Linked DNA regions of Homo sapiens: region 1 is linked to region 2. The links are contacts of gene promoters, found by promoter capture Hi-C in human tissues and cell types (Jung and others, 2019). All regions are on one chromosome and are shown on one strand. The core of a region is centred on a gene start or on the middle of the fragment in contact, and the rest is flanking DNA. Distances in the headings are between cores, read along the strand shown.

Evidence for each region. The method cuts DNA at HindIII sites, captures the fragments that hold promoters and counts their contacts. A contact is called where the count stands out against the background at its distance.
Region 1: a contact is called between a fragment that was not itself captured here and the fragment with the promoter of ARF4 in region 2, in 1 of the 25 tissues and cell types used here (H1 embryonic stem cells).

Annotation. Positions count from the first base shown.
Region 1 is chr3:57,950,082-57,955,488 of GRCh38, reverse strand. No RefSeq gene overlaps it. Among named protein-coding and RNA genes, the nearest start is that of FLNB, 56 kb to the left of the region's middle. The HindIII fragment of the contact is 8,045 bases long and covers 1-5,407 here.
Region 2 is chr3:57,595,291-57,600,398 of GRCh38, reverse strand. It overlaps ARF4 (ARF GTPase 4), which reads left to right and starts at 3,055. Exons shown (of 6, transcript NM_001660.4): 1 at 3,055-3,325. The coding sequence starts at 3,259. It overlaps ARF4-AS1 (ARF4 antisense RNA 1), which reads right to left and starts at 2,610. Exons shown (of 2, transcript NR_132370.1): 1 at 2,348-2,610. It also overlaps a transcript of PDE12 not described here. RefSeq lists enhancers at 2,032-2,737, 2,252-2,811, 2,832-3,081, 3,092-3,161, 3,352-3,401 and 4 more. The HindIII fragment of the contact is 4,316 bases long and covers 96-4,411 here.

The DNA of each region.
Region 1 (5,407 bases), core at 922-3,421, 360 kb before region 2:
CACTATGTTGGCTCACTGCAACCTCAGAATCCTTGGTTCAAGCAATTCTCCTGCCTCAGCCTCCCAAGTAGCTGAGATTACAGGCACCTGCCACCATGCCCGGCTAATTTTTGTATTTTTAGTAGAGGCAGGGTTTTACCATCTTAGCCAGGCTGGTCTCTAACTCCTGGTCTCAAGTGATCCACCAGCCTCAGCCTCCAAAATTGCTGGGATTACAGGTGTGAACCACTGCGCTGTCTGAAACATTGTTATATGGCACATAACTGCATATGTACATTTTTTTAATCTTTATTTTTTGAGACAGTCTCACTCTGTCACCCAGGCTGGACTGCAGCAGCACCATCCTGGCTCACTTGCAATCTCTGCCTCCCAGGTTCAAGCGATTCTCCTGCCTCAGCCTCTGAGTAACTAGGATTATAGGTGTGCACCACCACATCCGGCTAATTTTTGTATTTTCAGTAGAGATGGAGTTTCACCGTGTTGGCCAGGCTGGTCTGGAATTTCTGAGTTCAAATGATCTGCCCAACTTGGCCTCCCAAAGTGCTGGGATTACAGGTGTGAGCCACTGCACAATCACAGCTAACTACAGCCTCAAACTCCTGGGCTCAAGCCATTCTCCTGCCTCAGGCCCACAAGTAGCTGGGACTACAGGCATTCACCACTACACCCGGCTATATATATTTTTTAATCTTTTGTAGAGATGGGGTTTTGCCATATTGCCCAGGCTGGTCTGAAACTCCTGGGCTCAAGTGATCCACCCGCCTCAGCCTCCCAAAGTTCTGGGATTACAAGTTCAATCCACTGTGCCCCAACTATATACGTTTTAAGTAGCTTTATTGAAGAATCATTTGCATGCCATACGATTCACCCATAATAAGTGTATTGTTCAACAAGTTTTAGTAAATTTACACACTAGTGCAACCACCACTACAAACTAGTTTTCAAACATGTCCATTTTGTCATTTGCCCATCTGCAGTCAACCCCAGCTCCAGGCAAACAATGGTCTGCTTTTTGTCTCCATAATTATGCCTTTCCTAGAAATCTCCACTCCCTTAAAGAAAAGCAAAAGCAACAAAACAAAACAAAACAGAAAGATGGCCAGGTGTGGTGGCTCACACCTGTAATCCCAGCACTTTGGGAGGCCAATGTGAGCAGATCACCTGACGTTAGGAGTTTGAGACCAGCCTGGACAACATGGTGAAACCCCACCTCTACAAAAATACAAAAATTAGCCAAGCGTGATGGTGGGCGCCTGTAATTCCAGCTACTCAGGAGGCTGAGGCAGAATAATTGCCTGAGCCCTGGAGGTGGAGGTTGCAGTGAGCGGAGATGGTGCTGCTGTGGTCCAGCCTGGGTGACAGAGCAAGACTGTCTCAAAAAAATAAAGATAAAAAAATAAGTAAAACATACATATACAGTTATGTGCCATATAACAATGTTTCAGGCCGGGCACGGTGGCTCATGCCTGTAATCCCAGCACTTTGGGAGGCCGAGGCAGGTGGATCACTTGAGGCCAGGAGTTCAAGACCAGCCTGGCCAACACGGTGAAACCCCGTGGAGACTTCATCAAAACAAAACAAAACAAAACAAAAAACAAAAAGAAGCCTTGTTCTCTTCCAGGCCTGAAAAGGGGAAGACTCAAAGTCAGGGAGGGTGTGTCTGAAAAGGGGCCTAGAGAGTCCGGGCCTGACCCCTCCTGGTTCAACGCAGAGCACTCTCAGATGCACTTAGGGTCAGGCTTGGGCAGGGAATGGCTGCAGCGGTCCCACCAGCCTCTACCTTTATTCTACAGACAATAATGTCAAAAGCAGCTGCAGCAGCAGCAACAGTCACCACTCAGGGCCTGGCCTGGCCTGGCCAGGCCATGTGCGGTCCACCTGAGAATGGAGAAGTCTGGACGCAGATGACAGGAGCCCCTCGCTTCCCAAAGATCAACGTGCAAGGCACTTCCTAAGTGCTGACAGTCTTGCTCCACCCAGCAGGGATGTGGAAGGCCAGACCTGGTGTCTGCTTAGGCCTCTAACCTCAGGGAGGCCTTCTGTTTCTCACCAAGCCAGCTCTAGTTCTAGCTGGAAAGGCTGTTGTTCCCAACTTTTGTTTCTGGGCCTCTAACTGCCCTGTCAAGCTTACCCTGGGTTATGAGTGTTCATAAAGGAAACTGCCACCTGCGTCAACTCAAAAGTGACTGAGAAATTACCTTCCAAACTAGACCCAGGATGAGGAGCTAGGAAAGAGCTCATTCACAAAAGCAGGGCAAGTTGGGAAGTGGGGACAGGAAGCAGGGCTGGCCTCTGCCTACAAGTCACCTGGGCATGTGACCATCAGAGAGGCTTCCTTTATCCTAATCAGGAACTGCCCTTGCCCTGTTTTCTGGGGACTGGAAATTTTCCAGCGTGTCCATCAGGAACAGCCTATCTCACCAAAAAAGCGGCAAAGCTGTGTCTGCAGGTGAGAGTGATTCGGATAATCATCATCATCGTCAGCAGGAAACATTTATTCAGAGCTTCCCATATGCTGCTCTAAGCACTCTCTGATAGGCTGTGTACCATTATCACCCCCATTTCACAGATGAGGTAACTGAGGCCCAGAGAGGTGAAGAAATGTCAGGAGTCACACACAGTGGCGGACAGAATTGGGAACTGAATCCTGGAAGTTGATTCCAAGGTCTCTCTTTATACCCTACATGGTACTGACTTCGGAGGTGGAGATGCCCTGTCTTTCACTGAGCCTTCACTGGCTGACACTGAATCCCAGAATGCTGGGGACAGATCAAAGCTGACATCAACGTTGCCTGTTGCTCTGTTCTTTCCAGCACCCCAAATGCCCCTATCAAGCCAGGGGTCTGTGGTGCTGAGTAATGAGAAATGAGTTTGGTAATGTAGGTGTTAAAAGTTGAGTTGTGTCCCCAGCAAAAAGATATGTTTAAGTCCTAATTCCCCAGTACCTGAGAATGTGACTTTATTTGGAAATAGAGACTTTGCAGATGTAATCAAGTTAAAATGAGGTCATACTAGATTAAGATGGCTCTAAATCCAATCACTGGTGTCCTTATAAGGAGAGAGTTGGAGCCTACAGATACACAAGGAAGATGGCCATGTGACCACAGAGGCGGAGACTGGAGTGATGCTGCTGCAGGCCAAGAATGCCGAGGACTGCCCGCAACCATCAGGAGCTGGGGGAGAGGCATGGACAGATTCCCTCCAGTGCCTCTCAGAGGAGCCAGCCTTTCCGACACCTTGATTTTGGACTTCTGTCCTCATGAACTGCAGAAGAATGGATTTCTGCTGTTCTAAGCCACTTAGTTGGCGGTAATTTCTTATGGCAGCCCTAGCAAACTAAAAGAGCCACTTTTTCAAATCATCTCTTAAACCAGCTTTGTCCTTTTGTTGGTTTCCTTGTTAATGAATTAAATCAATCTTTGACATGTGGTCACTCTATACTTGTATGAGACCCCTTCTGAAAATTATACTTTGCTGTAGCGCAGACCCAGAGCTACTATTTCAGTTTACTCTGCCAATTTGCTGGCAAGCAACGTCCTCCACCAGCCATGCATCTGTCCTAGGCACTGGGAAAATCCAGGCTGAGCCCCCAGCTCCCCCTGGATGGTGGTCCAACCAGAGCTTGGCAGGAGCAAAGAGCTTTCGCAGCTTGGGCTGTTTTTAGCAGCTGGAGGGGCAGAGGCAGCCTGGCAACAGAAAGCTGAGAGGTGGAGGGCAAGGGGAAGTGTGACCTTTTCAAACCTAGCCACATTCGAGGAGTGGAGCAGAGAAAATACTCGTAAATCCATATCTGACATGCTGGGTGCTGAGGCTCAGTGACATGAAGCAGGCGGCCAAACAGCCCACTGAGGACAGTGAGGTCATCTTGAGGCTGAGTCACTCAGATTGGCAGAGCAGTGTGTGCATGGAGGAAGTCAGTTTCCTTTGCACCAGACAGAGCGGGATTCGCAGGGTGGGCCTCAGAGCCCGGGCCTCAGCCCTTTTGCCCTTTGATTCCCCAGGCTTCTGGGAGGAGGCTTAGGTTCCAACCTGGCTCCTTTCTCAGGACAGCTTTAGAACTGAGGCATGTGGTGAGAAGAGGGGAGCGGGGGCTCAGCAGCTGAGTTTGAACCTCCTCTCCTTCACTTACTGAACTGCATGATCAGGAACACCAATCTGACCTTCAGTTTCCTTCCTTGCAAAATTACTCCTTTTCCATAAGTGGTAATTTTATTTGGGCTTATCATTCTCATGAGGCCTCCATGGGGTCAGGGATGAGAAAGCACAGGGTCTAGCAAGAAACTGGCACATAAACATTAAAAAAAAATTTCCTCATCTTCAAATGTGACTCCCTTGGCTTTTTTGAGGAAATCATTCTGAGCAGGAGAGTGGAATGCAAAAGCAATTTAAATAATTTTTTTCCAAAAGTGGAAAATATCTTTTTTTTTTTTCCTCTGTCTCACTCTGTTCACCACAATACAATCTCCACCTCCAGGTTCAAGCGATTCTCCTGCCTCAGCCTCCTGAGTAGCTGGGATTACAGGTGCCCACCACCACAACCAGCTAATTTTTGTATTTTTAGTAGAGACGAAGTTTCACCATGTTGGCCAGGCTGGTCTCGAATTCCTGACCTCAGGTGATCCACCCGCCTCAGCCTCCCAAAGTGCTGGGATTACAGGCGTGAGCCACTATGCTCAGCTGAAAATATCTTTTAATTTAAAAAGTTACTTCATTCTGTCAATTCGAAGACGCACATTTTTTTCACATTTCAACATCTCAAAAATGCAGATGTGTCTAATAGATGACACATTGTAGCAGTTTGCTTTCAGGGGAGTACAGAAAATAATTGTCTTTCAATCAATGGCATCTTAGACTCAGGAAATGTGGTCTAAAAGGGATATATGTTCATTGTGTAAAGTTTTTCTAATTATTATTATTATTTTATTTTTGAGACAAGGTCTCCCTCTGTTGCCCAGGCTGGAGTGTAGTGGCCTGATCACAGGTCACTGAAATCTCAACTTCCCCAGCTCAAGCAATCCTCTCGCCTCAGCCTCCTGAGTAGCTGGGGCCACAGGTGCACATCACCATGCCCAGTTAATTAAAAAAAATTTTTTTTTTGTAGAGACGAGGCCTGTGTTGTCCAGGCAGATCTTAAACTCCTGAGCTCAACTGATCCTCCTGCCTCAGCCTCCCAAAGTGGGGATTACAGGCGTGAGCCACGGCACCCAGCACCGTATAAAGTTTAGACACACAGAAGTATACATAATAAAGACTCCCTGAGTTCAGCTCTCCAGAGAATACCACCACCCTAGAGAAAGTCCACTTTGTGTGCAAGAGCATGCTTCTGTTTTTGTTCTAATTGCCCAGAAACTCTCCTCAGACCAGTCACCCACACCTTCTCCTATTTCTGAGAGCCAAATTAATGCTC
Region 2 (5,108 bases), core at 1,806-4,305:
GAAGGAAAGAAAAGAAAGAGAAAGAAAGAAAAGAAAGGAAAGAAAGAAAAAGAAAAGAGAAAAGAAAAGAATTTGGCCGGGAACAGTGGCTCAGGCCCATAATCCCAGTACTTTGGGAGGCCAAGGCAGACAGATTGGTTGAGCTCAGGAGTTTGAGACCAGCCTTGGCAACATAGCAAAACCCTGTCTCTACAAAAAATAACACTACTTAGCCAATGTGGTGGTGTACCTGTAGTCCCAGCTACTTTGGGGGCTGAGGTGGGAGGATCACTTGATCCCAGGAGGTTGAGTAAGCCGAGATGATGCCACTGTACTTCAGCTTGGGTGACAAAGTGAGACCCTGTCTCAAATAAATAAATAAATAAATGTAAGAAGGTAGTATAGTGTAGTGGTTAAGAGTGTTAATGGCTGGGTGCACTGGCTCACACCTGTAATCCCAACACTTTGGAGGCTGAGGTGGAAGGATTGCTTGGGCCCAGGAGTTCCAGACAGGCCTGGGCAACATAGCCAGAATCCACTTATTTATTAAAAAAAAAAAAAAAAAAAGAGTGTAAATACCAGTTAATACCAGAAGAAATGGGTTCTTATAGCTGTTCCACTGCTTTTAGCTGTGTGACCTTGGGCAGAATATTTAATCTCTCTGACCCTGATTATTTTTATCTGTACAATAGAGATATTACAGTCTGCCATTAACATCCTGTTTTGTAATTTACATTAGCCACTTGATGTGTAGTGTATTCTTACTGAAAAATCTGTTTTGACAACTTTTGTTTTGGTTCAGGTTTTGGAGGCTAGAGATGGAGAACAGAATTCTTTCGATTTATTTTGCATAACTAAACAGAAAACATGGATTAAGATTTGGAATAAGTTACAGGGAGGAGGGCTCATACGGTTTGTCTTTTGAATTTAAGAAGACCCTAAGAATTAGTTGAAGATTGTTTTAAGGAATTCTACTATATAAAACTAAAAACAGACATAAGGCCTAAAGTGTGAAAGGAAAATAAATCTTGGGGCCTCCACCTCACTAAGCTAAAGAGAAAAGTCAAGCTGGGAACTGCTTAGGGCCAACCTGCCTCCCATTCTTTAAAAAGTCACCCCTCTGCTCACTGAGATAAACGCATATCTGACTGCCTCCTTTGGAGAGGCTAATCAGAAACTCAAAGGAATGCAACCATTTGTCTCTTATCTATCTATGCCCTGGAAGCTCCCTCCCCACTCAGAGTCTTCCTGCCTTTGCTTTGAGTTGTCCAGTCTTTCCAGAATGAACCAATGTTCATCTTACATATATTGATTGATGTCTCATTTCTCCCTAGAATGTATAAAACCAAACCGTGCTCTGATCACCTTGGGCACATGTCTACAAGACCTCCTGAGGCTATGTCATGGACGCGTGTCCTCAACTTTGGCAAAATTAACTTTCTAAATTAACTGAGGCCTGTCTCATATTTTGGGGGTTCACAAAAGGATACAAGAAGGTCTTGTCACTTAGCAAGCTTCCAAAATGCAATTTTGAGTTATTCAACTGCTAAGCAACTCTTTACATGTATCTCCAATGCAAAGGAGGGTACTTCTGAGTAAAGAAGTTTTTGGGGTTTTTTTGTTGTTGTTGTTTGTTTTTTTAAGACAGTCTCGCTCTGTCGCCCAGGCTGGAGTGCAGGGGCGCGATCTCCGCTCACTGCAACCTCCGCCTCCCGGGTTCACGCCATTCTTCTGCCTCAGCCTCCGGAGTAGCTGGGAGTATAGGCACCCGCCACCACGCCCGGTTAATTTATTCTATTTTTAGTAGAGACTGGGTTTCACCGTGTTAGCCAGGATGGTCTCGATCTCCTGACCTCGTAATCTGCCCGCCTCGGCCTCCCAAAGTGCTGGGATTACAGGCATGAGCCACTATGCCCGGCCAGAAGTTTTTGCTTTTAATTGCCCAGGGCCACTCCTAAGAAATAACAGTCTCTGAAGGGTAGATAAGGTAGTGCTACCAAGAGAAGCGTTACTCAGCAAGCCTTCAAAAATATAAAAATAACTTACTGTTTCTGAAAGTTTGCAAGTTTTTCTTATTCAACCCCATCCTATGGAAATATACCAGTTGGAATAAGCAACTACAGAACCACATAGGACGGCACTACTAGAAAAATAGATTAAATCTTTATCCTGGCAATGAGTCTAATACATTTATCATTGCTGTGAATTTTAAAAGGTGTAGCAGGCCGGGCGCGGTGAGTCACCGCGCCAGGCCCGATCATAAACACTTTTAAAGTGAAGAGGCTTTCCGCTTCCTCAACATAAGGAGTAAATCTTTAATGCTGCTTCTAGGAAAAAAAGTACAAGAAAAGCAAGACTTCCTCCTTGCCTTCTCTTTAAAAAGCAACAGCCGATGAACACGTGTTGGAGCGCTCTCGCCTTGACAGAATTAGAGATCTTCAGAATCACTTGGCGTGGTGGTCGAAGCGTCTAGCCCTAGCTCATTAGGGTGCCACAGTTTCTCGGCCCACAAGTCAGCTTTTAACCACTTTTCTCCGCAAAAGACCGGACCGGTCTTCATGCGTCAACTAAAGCAAGCGTCTGGTCCCGTGTGTGAAACGTGTAAGTTCATGGCATCAGGGAATACCCATCGCGCGTACCGTAATAGAAGAGGGCGAGGTTCCTCACCTAACCCATAATGCTCAGCTCGCCTTTCCGGAAGCAAGGACTATCACCCCGACAATACCTTCATCCGGGCGGAAGCGTCTCACCCTGAGTCTGATTTGGCAGTGACGAAGCGAGGTATTGTGGGACTTTGTCCGTCTCCCAGTACGCATGTGCCTCAGCCGGCCTCTCCCGGCTCCTGGGGCCACGTCCGGGCGGTGGCGCCGTCGAGAGATGCTCGTCAGCGAAACTGGCCAATCCCCTGCAGGCGCAAGCGCAGTGGCTCGGGCGCACCGGAAGCGCAGGGGGATGGGGCGGCGGTGACGCGATTCTGTCCGCGTTGGAGGGGCCGGGCCGCTGCTGGAGTCGCCGCGGCCGCCGCGTGACGTGGCACAGCCAGAGCCTAAAGGCTAGAGCCGGAGCTGCCGCGCCAGTCGCCTAGCAGGTCCTCTACCGGCTTATTCCTGTGCCGGATCTTCATCGGCACAGGGGCCACTGAGACGTTTCTGCCTCCCTCTTTCTTCCTCCGCTCTTTCTCTTCCCTCTCGTTTAGTTTGCCTGGGAGCTTGAAAGGAGAAAGCACGGGGTCGCCCCAAACCCCTTCTGCTTCTGCCCATCACAAGTGCCACTACCGCCATGGGCCTCACTATCTCCTCCCTCTTCTCCCGACTATTTGGCAAGAAGCAGATGCGCATTTTGATGGGTGAGTGAGGGGCTGCGAGTCAGGCGGGACCTGGGAAAGGCAGGGTCTCCACAATTGGGGTGGCCTCTGGGCCTGTTTTTTTCCTCCGCCCGCTGTGGTGGGGGAGGGGCGCCGGGTCGGGGGTCGGAAGGAATTCTTAAGGGGGAACAATGGAGCGGAGGGTGAGCGATCCCCCCCGCCCCCGATCTGTCGCCAGACGAGACAGGGACAGGGCTTCGGGCAAGATTTCTTTCTGGACTCGGCTTTTTCTCCTTGATCTTATTGAAAGCTGGACAACATTGGGCAGAGATGTGGGGAAAGCCAACTCTGGGAAGCAAACACTTGGCGAGGCCCTTTCTGGGGGTGCGATCTGCATACCTTCTTGCCCGGGTGTGGACAGCGGTCAGGAGGGAGGCAGAGCAACTCCAGCCTTTTCCCTCCCCTTCTGCGTTTCGTGTACAGTCCCTGCATACTCCATTGGTATGTAAGCCAGCGGCCACCCGGAGCCTGGAGCCGCCCGGGGCAGGAAGTTGCGGTGGCCAGGGAGCACCCAAGGTTTCCGAAGAGTCTGGAGTCCTTCAGCGCTCACTTTGCTAAACTTGGCCTTGCGCTGGATTCCGTTTCAAGTTTTTCGCTCCTTGTTAATCTCATTCTCCGAAAACTGAGCTTATCTTCTATTTCTTTGACTATTTTCAAAAACTTTAAATGTGTTTGGTTTATTCTCCTAGGTTTTTAAGCTTATTTTTAGGCGGTCTAAGGTCTAATGCAAAAAAATTTTAGAAACGAATTTTTAAAAAATACCTGATAAATTTTCAAGTAACTGAACATCATGACGCTGAATTTTATGGTAGTCTTGTTAAATAGTAACTACAATTTTTTTAAAATTTCTTTTTAGAAAGTTGACTTTTTAAAAACTACTTTTTAGGGGGCGTGTTTTTGCTCAGCTGAGGGAGAAGGGCTGTCAGTTGGCTGAAGTAAGCAACCGCTCCCGGTTACTGTAAGCAGTCTACATCACAGCTGAGCTCCATGGACTAGAATAACGCTGAAAGAAGCCCCTCTAACTTTGAACGTTGAAACTTGTTGGTTCATTAGCTTGTTTTCTACCGGAGGAGGTTTTATTTTTCTCTTCCTTTTTTTTTTTTGCAGACGGAGTTTTGCTCTTGTCACCCAGGCTGGAGTGCAGTGGCGCAATCTCGGCTCACTGCAACCTCCACCTCCCGGGTTCAAGAGATTCTCCTGCCTCAGCCTCCCGAGTAGCTGGGATTACAGGCATGCAACACCACGCCTGGCTAATTTTTTGTATTATTAGTAGAGACGGGGGTTTCACCACGTTGGCCAGTCTGGTCTCGAACTCCTCACCTCAGGTGATCCACCCACCCAGGCTTCCCAGAGTGCTGGGATTACAGGCGTGAGCCACCGCGCCCGGCCGGAGGTTTTATTTTAGAGCTGTACTACCATCAAAACTTGCAAACACAAGCTTCTGTAATATTTCAAGGTATATAAAGAGTAACAGTATATACATTGGCTCATGTTTATTTTCCTCTTAGCGTACTTACACTTTGTGAATCAATTGTTTATGAGTCATTCATAAAGTATTTTTTCTTTCAAAGTTTCTTAGATTTCCTTTGTCAAGAGGACAGAATTATTTTAGGAGGGCAAGCATATTTAAGTTTTCAGTGGCTGAAAGTTGGCAGTCTGAAAAAGGATCGGAAGTTAATGGGAGGACTTCGGACTGTGATAAATGAATTTCCAGTCTGTTCGTTAAAGAGATTTAACAATATATGGTTATGTTCCAGAACACATA